2 separate regions of the Homo sapiens genome follow, and region 1 is linked to region 2. The links are contacts of gene promoters, found by promoter capture Hi-C in blood cells and fetal thymus (Javierre and others, 2016). All regions are on one chromosome and are shown on one strand. Each heading gives the region's core, a stretch centred on a gene start or on the middle of the fragment in contact. The rest is flanking DNA. Distances are from core to core; before and after follow the strand shown.

Region 1 (5,995 bases), core at 158-2,657, 310 kb after region 2:
GATACCCAGGTGAGCCCAATCTAACCGCACAAGTTCTTAAAAGCACAGGACTTCCTCGGGCTTAAAACAGGAACGATAAGGAGGAATGGGAGGTCCAAGAAGATACCATGCACACAGGGGGCAGCCACGTGTCTCCTTCACCTCGTGTATCCAGAGTCTGGAACCCAGCAGGTGCTTGGCGACAGAAAGGCCACTAAAGTGAACTTTGAAGCACCAGATTCCAGTTAACAGTCATGCAGACGAATTATTTAACCTCTCTGACCCCACGTCATCCCTTCTCTATGGATATCAGAAGGGCAGTGAAAATAACCCACCCAAGGTCATCCACTGAATGAACAGTGGGGCTGGCCCCACTGCAAGCCCCTCAGAACCCATCTGGTTGCCAAATCCAGCACTCTCCCCACCCCCACCTGGGCTTGGCCATAATGGGCAGAACTCCTGGGTAGACAGGGGTGAAGTTTCTCATGGCCCCATTTTGTTCCTTTGCTCCATTCTGTGCCCTTGTTTTCTGGTGACGGGTTGTCATCCCATTTTCTGTGCATAGACCAGCAGGGGGGGCCAGCGCCCGTGTAGAGACCATCAGCTCCCAGAGCTGCCCTGGGGAAGAGCTGCCCTAGGGAAGGGCCTGGTCCTGGCCACCCACAACAACAGTGCCCTTAACGACAAGGGGCACCTATTGGTTCACCACCTGGCTCTTCGGCTGCCAGGTAGATGCCCCTGGAAAAAGGACTTCATCTCCGTGGCTGCGGTTTTCACAGCTGTGAAAGGGGATGGGAAACAGACCTCCCAGGCGTACTGGGACAGTAAAATGAAGCGACTCATGAGACGGCTTCCAGCACAGGCCCTGGCACTTAACTCTTAGCTGAATTTGCATTCTTTTATTTTTATTTTATTTTATTTTATTGAGACAGAGTTTTTCTCTGTCACCCAGCCTGGAGTGCAGTGGCGCGATCTCTACTCACTGCAACCTCCATCTCCCAGGTTCAAGCGATTCTCCTGCCTCGGCCTCCCAAGTAGCTGGGACCACAGACACACATCACCACACCCGGCTAATTTTTTGTATTTTTAGTAGAGATGGGGTTTCACCATGTTGGCCAGGCTGGTCTTGAACTCCTGACCCCAGGTGATCTGCCCGCCTCAACCTCCCAAAGTGCTGGGATTTCAGGCATGAACCAACACGCCCAGCTGAACTTGCTTTCTTTATCAAGAGACGTTCAGTCAATCTCAAAGGACTCTCATTTCAGATTCTGCCCAAACCACATGAATCGTTTTTTGGACTCGGCTGTCTCGCTCCTTTTCCTCCACCCTTTTATGTCTTTACCAAATCTTTCCTCTGTGCTTAAAGAGCACTCCCCAACAGTCTAGCCAGCACCCTCAGGCCTGCTATAAACTACACAGGGGGCCCAATTCAAAAGGCGCTACTAAGCAGGGGGCTCCTTTCTTCTGAAAACTGCTGCGGGCCAAGTGTAAATTTAAGACACTGTGCCTTTGCTTGTATATTTCCTCTGTCTTCTAGCCTAAAACCCAGCCAGTCCTAACATTGACCGACTGCCCATGTATGTTACCTAAGACCCCATGCTGGGCAGGGATACTGAGATAAGTAGGACACAATCACGACGTCACTGGAAGCGCCTCCAACAGGGACAGAGATAGCAACAGATGATTTCAGAACAACGTATGTGCCTGTCTACAAAGATCCACTCTCAGGAGTGGATCTTGGGATTCCATTCCCAAGAACTTACCCGGTACCACCCTTTGAAGGATGAATTGTCTCGGCTTCACAGACTTCCAAGGCCAAAGTCAGACAGGAACGGGCAGGACCAGGACTGGGCCCCACGTTTGACTAACATCACTGTCTCCCTTATCACAAGGAGGAAGAGGCCCTTTGAAGATGTCCTTTCGCACGGGCTCCGAAATATCTGCTAAATGTAGGTCATTATGACTGAAAATGCATTTTTCCCCTTGTCCTTGAAGCAGGCAGCTGCTCTGTAAGTTTCGGCTGTAGCCTGATGTTTAGCAACAGCAGCCCTAGCCCATCTGCTGGCCAGCAGATCGCAGGGTTGTCACCCTTGGAACTGGAAGGCATTCTACACACACTGTGTCTTCCAGGTGCTTTTTCTCCTCAACCATGAAACCACACACCCACAGGCCAGGCAACAAAGCGCTCAGTTACTTCACATGGTCATTCCTTCCTCCTCCTGCTTCACCTGATGCAGAAGACTTTGTCAGTAAAACTTGAGCATTACAAGAATATGCAACAGAAAGAATTAGAGAACTTGGCAATCCAAAAGCTGCTAAATGAGGGTTTTCTCCATTTGGGGGGTAATGTAAAGCAGTTCCAAGAAAAGTGAAGTCACAGCCACGGTTGCTTATTTTCGGTTTTAGAAAAAAGCCAATGTCAAAGGGGAAGCAGCTCTGCCCCAGCACAGCCTCCACTGTCTGGCGGGGGGCGCTTGCTGATAAGCCATCTTGGATTTGGCACCAGAAACCCAAAACCTCTGACATATGTTTTCATCTGGTGATGTCAGGGAGGAAACTCAAGCCGAAACAGTGAAAGTTGTTAACATTCAAAGAAACCACACAGCTCAGCTAACATGGTGAGGCAACACCCTTCCAGCACCAAGCCACCAGCATTTCTGAGGGGACTGTCAGGAAAAACACACAGTGCCCTCCTTTTCCTACCTCCACCCCGCCAACAGACTCCTGAGATGCATTATTGCTCAGGCCACCATGTCAGCCCAACTAGCATTTTTCAATGGACACTACTTACCAGAAGTTGGGTGAGGACAAATGGGGCAGGATACGGTACAGGTGGTTTTCGGCAGCTTGGGTCTTTTTTCTAGCACACAAGCAGGTTTCGCCACAGTAGGGCAGACTTCAGGTTAACATCTGGGGAGTCTACCACACATCCAGCTCAGGGGCTACTACTGGGTGCCCCATAATAATTTTGTGAACAAGGTTTGCTTTTTTTGTTTTTTGTTTTTGAGACAGAGTCTGGCTCTGTCGTCCAGAATGGAGTGCAGTGGCATGATCTTGGCTCACTGAAACCTCCGCCTCCCAGGTTCCAGAGATTCTCATGCTTCGGCCTCCAGAGTAGCTGGGATTACAGGTGCGTGCCACCATGCCTGGCTAATTTTTTTGTGTTTTTAGTAGAGACGGGGGACTATGTTGCCCAAGCTGGTCTTGAACACCTGGCCTCCAGTGATCAGCCTGCCTCGACCTCTCAAAGTGTTTCAATTACAGGCGTGAGCCACTGCACCCAGCCATTGTGACTAAGTTTTAACCTAAGAATTCTGTAACAGATCTCACTGTCTGCACCAAAATTAAATTTAAATGCAATTAAAAGCAACTGATTGAACGACCCAGCCAGGGAGAGCACCTAGGGAGACATGATGACGAAATGGAATGTGGTGTCCCGGATGGGACCCTGGAACAGGAAAGAACATTAGGAAAAACCCAGAGAAATCTGAATGAAGTACAGACTTGGGTTAATAACATCTCAATATTGGTTCATGAATTTTAACAAATGCACTATACTAACATGTTAATAATAGGGGAAGCTGGGTACAGGTATATGGGAACTCTTTGTACTATCTTTGCAATTTCTCTCTCTCTCTCTCTCGTGTGTGTGTGTGTGTATGTGTGTGTGTAGACAAGCAAGAACATACTGATCCTCCCAGCAATAATGATTTGGTGCCTACCAAGTGTCACATACCATGTAAAAGTGATCTACATCTTCATTTATTCCTCACACCAGTGCTATGAGCTGGGCATAATCTGCATTTTACAGATAAAGAAACTGAACAATGGAGAGGTTACGTACCTTGCTCATAGTCACACGGCAAGGTTACTTGCAAATGAAGGGCTCAAATTCAGGTTGACAGGACTGCAAAGTTCCTGTTAAAGCTCAGCAATATTGCCCGAAAAATCCCAAACTGTGAACATAAAACAGTTCAAAACAAGCTTCTTGTGGGCAACAAAAATGATGCATACTTTCCAATCTGCCCGGCTTTAAAAAGAAAATAGTTTAAAAGCACAGCACACCCGAGACACTGACAACACTCAGTGCTGGAGACGATGTGGAACAGTGACTCCCCTTCATTGCTGGTGAGAATGCAAAAGCAGACTGGCAGTTTCTACAAGGCTAACCATAGGTCTACCATATGGCCCAGCAATTGCACTCCTAGGCATTTACCCCAATGAGCTGAAAACTTACACCCACTCAAAACCTGGGCATGAATGTTTACAGCAGCTCTATTCATAGTTATCAGAGACTGGAGTCAAGATGTCCTTCAATAGGTGGATTAGATAAAACTATGGTACATCCATACAATGGAACATTATTCAGTGATAAAAAGAAATGAGCTGGCTGGGCGTGGTGGCTCATACCTGTAATCCCAGCACTTTGGGAGGCCAAGGTGGGAGGATTGCTTGAGCCGAGGAATTTGTGCCTGTAGTACCAGCTACTCAGGAGGATGACATGGGAGGATTGCTTGAGTTTGGGAGGTTGAGGCTGCAGTAAGCCACGTTCACGCCACTGTACGCCAGCCTGGGTGACAGGGCAAGGCCCCATCTTAAACAAACAAACAAAAATAAAAAACTCAAAATAAATAAATAAATAAATTAGCTGGGTGTGGTGGCACACATCTGTAATCCCAGCTACTCAGGAGGCTGAGGCGGGAGAATCGCTTGAACCCGGGAGGCAGAGGTTGCAGTGAGCAGAGATCACACCACTGCACTCCAGCCTGGGTGACAGGGTTAGACTCTGTCTCAAAAAAAAAAAAAAAAAAAAAAACAGTACCTAAGGAATTCTTCATGTTTCTATCTTGTAATAAGCACGGGCATTTATTGAAAAAAAAAAAAAAAAAAAAAAGCTAACAAGCTGCAAAAAGACCTGGAGGAGTCCAGACACAATGGCTCACACCTGTAATCCCAGCACTTTGGGAGGCCAAGATGGGAAGATTGCTTGAGCCCAGGAGTTTGAGACCAGCCTGGGCAACATGGCAAAACCTTGTCTCTACAAAAAATACAAAAAAATTAACCAGGCAAGGTGATGCGCACCTGTAGTCCTGCTACCTGAGAGGCTGAGATGGGAGGATCCTGAGCCTGAGAGGTTGAGGCTGTGGTGAGCTGTGATTGTGCCCTTGCACTCCAGCCTGGGCAAGACTGAGATTGTCTTAAAAAAGAAAAAAAAAAAAAGATATGGAGGAATCTTATATGCATAGTAAATGAAAGAAGCCAGTCTGAAAAAATTACTTACTGTATGATCCAACTATATGATATTCTGGAAAAGGCAAAACTGAAAAGAAAGATCAGTGACTGTCAGGGTTGGTGGGGAGGGGTGAATAAGGGGAACCCAGAGGATTTTTAGGGCAGTGAAGCTATTCTGGACGATACTGTAGTGGTGGATACATGTTATTATGCATTTGGCAAAATCCACAGAATGTATAAGAGAAGGAATAAAGCCTAATGTAAACTAAACTTTAGTTAATAAGAATGTAATGTTGGTTTATCAAATGTACCATCCTAATAAAAGATGTTCATAGCTGGAAAAACTGGGAGTGGGGTGTGTGGAGTATATGCGAACGCTGTAGTTTCTCCTCTATTTTCCTGAACACCTAAAACTGTTTTCTTAAGTCCATTAAAAAAAAAAACTCATACAGCCTATTAAAAATTTATTAGAGGTAGAATATCAATAATCCAGGTGAAAGTCTACAACCATGTCAGAACACAATCTAACTCCTTTGATATTTACAATCTCAAAAAATTCAGGCATGGGTACTAAGCAGACAGCAGAAACCCAACATTCAAAACCATCACAGCAAAAAGTCATTCCATACAAAGACAAAAGAACTCTACACCAGGAGGCTCACCATGTCTCGCCGAAAGTTATGAAGTGGAAGTTTAGCTAATGCCTGAAAGGCGTCCTTTATCTTGATGTTTTTCATTTCAACAAGAAATTCTGAAAACGTCTCAACATCTCTGAGTAATGGAA
Region 2 (6,209 bases), core at 1,556-4,055:
ACTCTCGGATCCCACCCACCCACTATAAAAGCAAGATCCAAGGCCCAGGCTCTCCAGAACCCCCTGCCCCAGCATCCTCAAACAACCCCAAAGGAGGTCAACTGCAGCACAGGACACACTCTGTCTCCCGGCAGAGCCCACACATGTCCCAAGGAATAACAACTGCAAGACAAGCCTGAGCCATGCCAGGTGAGCGGGGGCCTGCACCGCCCTTGGCCACTCCTCCCCAGCAGCCCAAGCTTGCAGGTGTTACTGACACTGTCCTGCCGGGTTTGCCAAGGCCCACAGAGATCCGTAACTGGGACCCAAGGAGCATGGGGGCAGAGCCGGGGGTGAACCCCACCCCGTCAGAGCCATTCAAATGGACAGTCCCTGCCCCAGCTACCAGAGAGGGGACGGGTATCCTCCTGTCCTGCTCTCCCTCCCAGGACCCCGGCTTGTCTGAGCCTGATCCCACTCCAGAGGCCACTCCATGTGCTCTAGGCCCGGGGGGCCCACAGACCGCAGTAGAGCAGGCTGGAGTCCCCTCCATCCTCCCAGACCAGCACTCACTTTTGCGGCCTGCTTCCGCCCAGCCAAGCAAGCTGCTCCTCTTGGCCTCAGTTTCTCAATGCGCAAAGCGGATACGAGTCCCTGACCTCATCTACCAGGTCGTGGGGAGGATGAGAAGTGGTAAGAAAAGTGAAAACAAAAGGGACATGAGGTCACCAGGTTTGCATGTCACCAGCCACACCTTCCTGTGTGCTACAGCAGGGACAAAGGGAGAACACTGAGCCCGAGGGATCCCCAAGCCCACCCCCAGGGCCAGAAGGGCACAGAGCCTGGCCCAGGCCCAGTGCCACAAACACCCCTTCCCCAGGGACACGCTGCCTCCTCCTAACTCAACCGGGCACATCATGAGCATTGCCGGGCTCACCACCAGCAAAACACCCCCGCCTTGCAGCCGCCACCTCCTGAGGCTCCTTGACAGACGCCAGGAGGGCTGCCCTGCTTACAGGGGACCAGCCATCCCTACGGGGCTTTCAGTACTGCCTCCCCCCATAAAGCCACCTGCCAAGGGTGCCAACAAACTCTTCAGCGAACCCCGGGTCACAAACCAGAAACGTTTCCTGCCCCAGGTTCTGACTGGGAAAACAGGGTTGTAGGGAGAAGAGGGCACTGCTGGACACAGCCAGGACGAGGCGGGACGTCCGTTCTGCCCTGGGCCTCCAGCAGCCAGTGGGACACAAGGACGCATCACACAAGGCCCCAGCCCTCCAGAAGCCAGGACCAAGAACGGCCGGATGCCAGTGGGACTGACACTGATGGGGCTGTGCCCAGCTCTCTGGCCAGTGTTATCTCATCCTCCACCCCCACCCATGACACCCCCATCCTCAGAAGAGGAAACTCGCTCCAGAATCCCCTAGGTTCCCCAGTGGCAAAAGAGGAAGCGGGAGCCCGCAGAGCTCTGAACCGGGACTGCCCCAAGGTCAGTCGGGGTCTTCCTCGGGCCAGGCCAGAGGCTCATGCCCCCACCCTGTGAATCACCCGCTGGTCATTTTCACAGGCTGCCCCAGGGTTGGCCTGTTTGGCCAAACAACTTTGCTTGTAGATGCCGGAGAAAGTTGGTGGCAATTATATGTGCCAGACACTGAGATAAACAGCTCACGCAGATGTCTCCTTTCTGCCTCAAGACAACAGGGCAGTTGAGCTATTACTGTTCCCTCTTGGCAGATACAGAAATTGGTGGCTCAGAGAAGTTAAGTCCATTGCCCAAGGTCACACAGCTCAAAAGTAGACGCGCAGGGATTCAAACCCAGGCAACCTGCATCCAAAATCCCGCATTTCGACCCTGACTCTAAAATGCCACATTCTCCCTACCTCCTCTCCCGCGTGCCTGAGGGGCCGCGGACAGGTGAACCCCAGTGTGGCCCTCGCTGGGGCGGGCTGGGCGACCTGGGCTGGGTGCTGGGGACTTAGGGGTGACAGCGCCCCGGCGGCTCCCGAGTGCTGAGCGCGGGCGGCGTGGCAGGCGCGGTGCCAGGCGCGCTCCGCGCACCCTCCCGTTCCACCCTGCCCGGCGGCGCCGGCGTCTCCCCCACTCCACGGAGGAGCAAAGCGAGGCTCCAGGGAGGAGGGGGCTCGGCCCAGGGGGCGACAGCTGGAGAGGGGACGGCAGCTGGGGAGGTAGCTCGAATCGGCCCGACGGAGGCGGGGTGTGGGACGGGGACCAGGGGAGCTAGGCATGCCCACGCCGCGCAGCCGCTGCCCACGGAACCGGGCGCCGAACGCTGCGGCCCGGCCTCAGTTTCCCTACCCGCGAGACGGGCGCCGGACGTCACCTGGACCCCTATCCCCGGAGCCCTCCCCGGAGCTCCCAGAATTTTGAAGAACCCCGAAATGCCGGGGGAAGGCGGGAGCGTAGCTGAGGACGGGCGGGGGCTGCACGGGCGGGGGCGAGCGCCCCGCGATCCCCACAAAGCGGCCTCCGCCCCCCGCCGCCTCCTTTGTCCGGATCTCGCCGCAGCGCCGCTGACAAAGAACCCCAGCCCGCGGGCGCGGCCCCTGGAACGGACCCTCCCCCGAGCCGCGCCCGCCGGGCCGCCCCTCCCCCGCCCGCAGACCCCGGCCCGGCCCCGCCGCCGCGCGCGCCCCTCCTCGTCCTGGCCTCCCCCTTCCCGCCCCCGGGCCCCGGCGCCCCCGCCCGGCCCGAGCGCGCGGCCTGCCCCGCCCGGCTCACCATGGCGCGGCAGCGGCCCGGCCCGATCGCCCCGCAGCAGCCCCGCGGGCCCGGCTCCGCCCGCCCGGTCCGGCCGCCGCGCACTCGGGACGCAGGAGCCCCGCGCTGCGGCGGGCGGGGCCCGGCTCCTCCCCGGCTGGGGACGGGGCCTCCCAGAAAGGCCAATGGGAGCCCGCGCTGGGACGGCGGGGCGGGGCGGGCCGGGGCGGAGTCACGTGTGCTCGGGGCCGGCAGGCGGTGGGGCGGGGGCTGCGCGCGGCGGGCGGGCTCGGCCCTGGCGAGCGCGGATTGGGCGCCCGTGGGTACGGGGCCCCACTACAGGCGCCCTTCCTCTGCCAGCCTCATCCTGACCCCGGCAGGCTGCCTTGGTCCCGCCTGCTTACAGCGGAGGAAACTGAGGCACGCTGCACGGAAGAGTGCTGCATACTCCTCGAGAGCTGAGAGCGGCGGGGAATCCGGGGCAGGGGCAGGGGAGAGGCGCGACCGCTGAGGTGAATGACCTTGCTTCGGGAGGAAGCTGGGCATCAGTCGTTCGCGAATTCATTTATGTATCATTCATCCGCCCAGTCAGTCGATGGCGGAACACTGACCACGTGCCTGCCACGCCAGTCGTCGTGGGAGCAGCCACGAGCCAGACAAGGTCCCGGCCCTGACGAAGCTCTCATTCCTCTGCGGGATGAGGCTGTGAGGCATTTGCACCCCTCTGCCACCTATAATCATAGTTATTTTTAGCATAATTACCCGGTGGTTTGGCCCCCACCAAATGCCTGCCCTGTATAAACAGCCCAACACATTTTATTAAGATGACTCCGGAAGAAAGAATCTTCCCATTTTACAGATGAGGAACCTGAGGCTCCAAAGAGCTGAAGTCCCACAGCCTGCTCCTGATGGAGAGAGGGTTTTGAGGCCAGGCCTGTCTACCTGGGAAGACAGAGGCTCCAGTTATTGGAGTAATCTCCACTCATCCACCCCAAGAAGGCCATCGGCGAGAGGACACCCCAGCCCTGGGGCCCACAGAAGGGGTGAGGGTGGGTCCCTCAAGGCTTCTGTGGCCCAGGGGACTTGAGAAGACAGGAGGGGGCAGGGCGAGCTGGGACCTCCTCCTGGGAACGGGGGCCTTATTTGCTGGAAACTTCTTTCCCATTCTCAAGCAGAAGCCTCTGGAAGAGCATGGCGGGTTGGGCTCACGAGGCTGAGGTGGCCAGGCCCTCACTCCCTCCACTCAGCCTCGCTGGGCTTTCTTCCCTGCGCCCAGTGCACCAAGCCTTTCCCACCGCCAGGCCTTTGCCTATGTGGCTCCCTGCAGCTGGAACTCTTCTACTTCATCTTCCCGATCTCAGCTTAAGTGCCCCTTCCTCAGGAGGGCCCTCCCTGATCGCCCAGCCAAGAGTAGCTCCCTTGGGGTTTTTTGTTTTGTTTTTGAGACGGGGTCTTGGTCTGTCACTCAGGCTGGAGTACAGTGGTGCAATCACAGCTCACTACAGCCTCCATCCAACTCCTTCCTGGGCTCAAGCCATCGTCCCACTCAGCCTATATCTATGAATGTGGGCAGATTTGACGAAGCAATTTTTTTTCTTTTTTTTAGAGAGAAGGTCTTGCTCTGTCGCCCAGGCTGGAGTACAGTGGTGCAATCATAGGTCACTGTAACCTGGGCTCAAGCGATCCTCCTACCTCAGCCTCCCAGGTAGCTGAGACTACAGGTGCATGCCACCATGCCCGGCTAATTTTTTAATTTTTTGTAGAGATAGGGTCTCTTGTTGTTGCCTGAGCTGGTCTCAAACTCCTGGGTGATCCTCCTGCCCCGGCCTCCCAAAGTGCTGGGATTATAGGCTTGAGCCACCATGCCCAGCCTACCCATTGTGAAATTGTACATTTTTGACATTGTGTGATGAACTTTTGGTCTTCTCTCCCAGGACTAGGTGTATTGCACTCACTGCTGTGTCTACAGAACAGTGCCTGCCACACAGTGGGTGCTGAATACATGGATGTTGAATGAATGAATGATCGGACTGCAGAACTCCAGGGCGGGTTCAGCGGCAGCCTAGTCAGGAAGCCAGGCACAGGAGGTGAGCTGGGAGTTGCGCAGGAAGGGAGGACAGAAAGGCAGAGGAGAGCCCAGCTTCAGCCAGCTGCCCCACAGGCCAAAGCCGGGCATCTCAGAACAGCTCCGCCCCCACATCTGCCCAAATCCTGCCCCATCAGCCACACCTAGGAGCCCAGAATGGAAGGAAATAGGTTCTTCCCACAAAGCCAGTTCCAGCAGCCTTTGTGGTCCCCGCCTCAAGTTGGCAGAGACTTCATTAGTGGTGAGGACCTGGGAGGGGCAGGCTAAGAACCCCAGAGCCAGGACTGGCAACACGATGACAGGGGAGGCAGGGACACTTAGAGGGGAAAGATTCTTGGGGGAAAATGGTGAGGGAGATTCAGCATGGCATAGAAGCTGGGAGTCAGATTGCCAGATTCCAGGCTTTCCTGCTGGGTGGTTTTGGAAAAACAGCCGAACGTTTCTGTGCCTCAGTTTTTTCGTCTGAGAAATGGAGATGAGGCCGGGTGCGGTGGCTCACACCTGTAATCTCAGCACTTTGGGGAATGCCAAGGCAGGGGGATGGCTTGAGCTCAGGAGTTTGAGAACAGCCCTGGAAATGTAGTGAGACTCCTATCTCTAAAAAAGAAAAGTTAGCTGGCCGTGGCGTTGTGCGCCTGTACTCCCGGGTACTGGGGAGGCTGAAGTAGGAGGATTGCTTGAGCCTGGGAGGTTGAGGCTGCAGTGAGCTGTGATCACACCGTTGCACTCCAGCTTGGGTGACAGTGAGCCCTGTCTCAAAATAAATAAAATAAAATAAAATATACAGCTTCTGACCCACTAGGTCTGAGCCCCAAATCCTGCATTTTTCAAAAGTTCCCGAGTGGTGCTGATGATTCAGGGACAGACTTTGAGCAGCAAGGGCGAGTTCACTTGCTGAAAGTCACAAGGTAGTGGGCTCCAAGCCTGCACTGGAGCCCATGAGATGGGCTACAGGATCCTGCGCTTAACTGCGACCCTAACTGCTTGCTGCAGCCCCACCTTTCTCTCCCCAACAAAGAGGAGGCAGGAAGTATCGCGCCCCTCCCCCAAGCCCATTTCCTCTACCTCCCTCCGTAGTGACATCTGGCCTCACGTCCCCGGGGTTCGTCCTTACAGAATGGGATGGAGGTTCTCAGATGCTCATTAGCCAGGAGGATAATTGAGGGCTTGGGATGAGCTCACCCCAGCTCCCTGGGGCTTGCTGGGGTCCAGCTGGTGTGCCCTGTACCAGCCTGGCCCTCTGCCCACTCCCCCAGCCGCTATAAGGGCTGGGACAAGGAAGGGGGTTGCTCGGCGGGGTGGAGAGGCCTCAGCCTCAAGGGAGACTCTACAGCTGGGACTCCCTGCTCGGGTGGGCGGGCCTCTGCTCCTGGGGCATCTCTATAAGGGATCCAGGCCTGAGAACAAAATGAAAACTGCGTGGCC

Evidence for each region. The method cuts DNA at HindIII sites, captures the fragments that hold promoters and counts their contacts. A CHiCAGO score of 5 or more calls a contact.
Region 1: a fragment that was not itself captured here is called in contact with the fragment with the promoter of SNN in region 2 in 1 of 17 cell types (non-activated CD4 T cells); the score reaches 5.3 in non-activated CD4 T cells.

Annotation. Positions count from the first base shown.
Region 1 is chr16:11,351,428-11,357,422 of GRCh38, reverse strand. All of the region lies in intron 1 of LOC105371082 (a long non-coding RNA gene), which reads right to left. RMI2 (RecQ mediated genome instability 2) reads right to left here. Exons shown (of 2, transcript NM_152308.3): 2 at 5,663-5,995. Among named protein-coding and RNA genes, the nearest start is that of RMI2, 9.0 kb to the right of the region's middle. RefSeq lists enhancers at 1,993-2,142, 2,320-3,172. The HindIII fragment of the contact is 5,116 bases long and covers 1-3,965 here.
Region 2 is chr16:11,665,051-11,671,259 of GRCh38, reverse strand. It overlaps SNN (stannin), which reads right to left and starts at 2,805. Exons shown (of 2, transcript NM_003498.6): 1 at 2,720-2,805. RefSeq lists an enhancer at 1,506-1,605 and a silencer at 2,713-3,132. The HindIII fragment of the contact is 10,329 bases long and covers 242-6,209 here.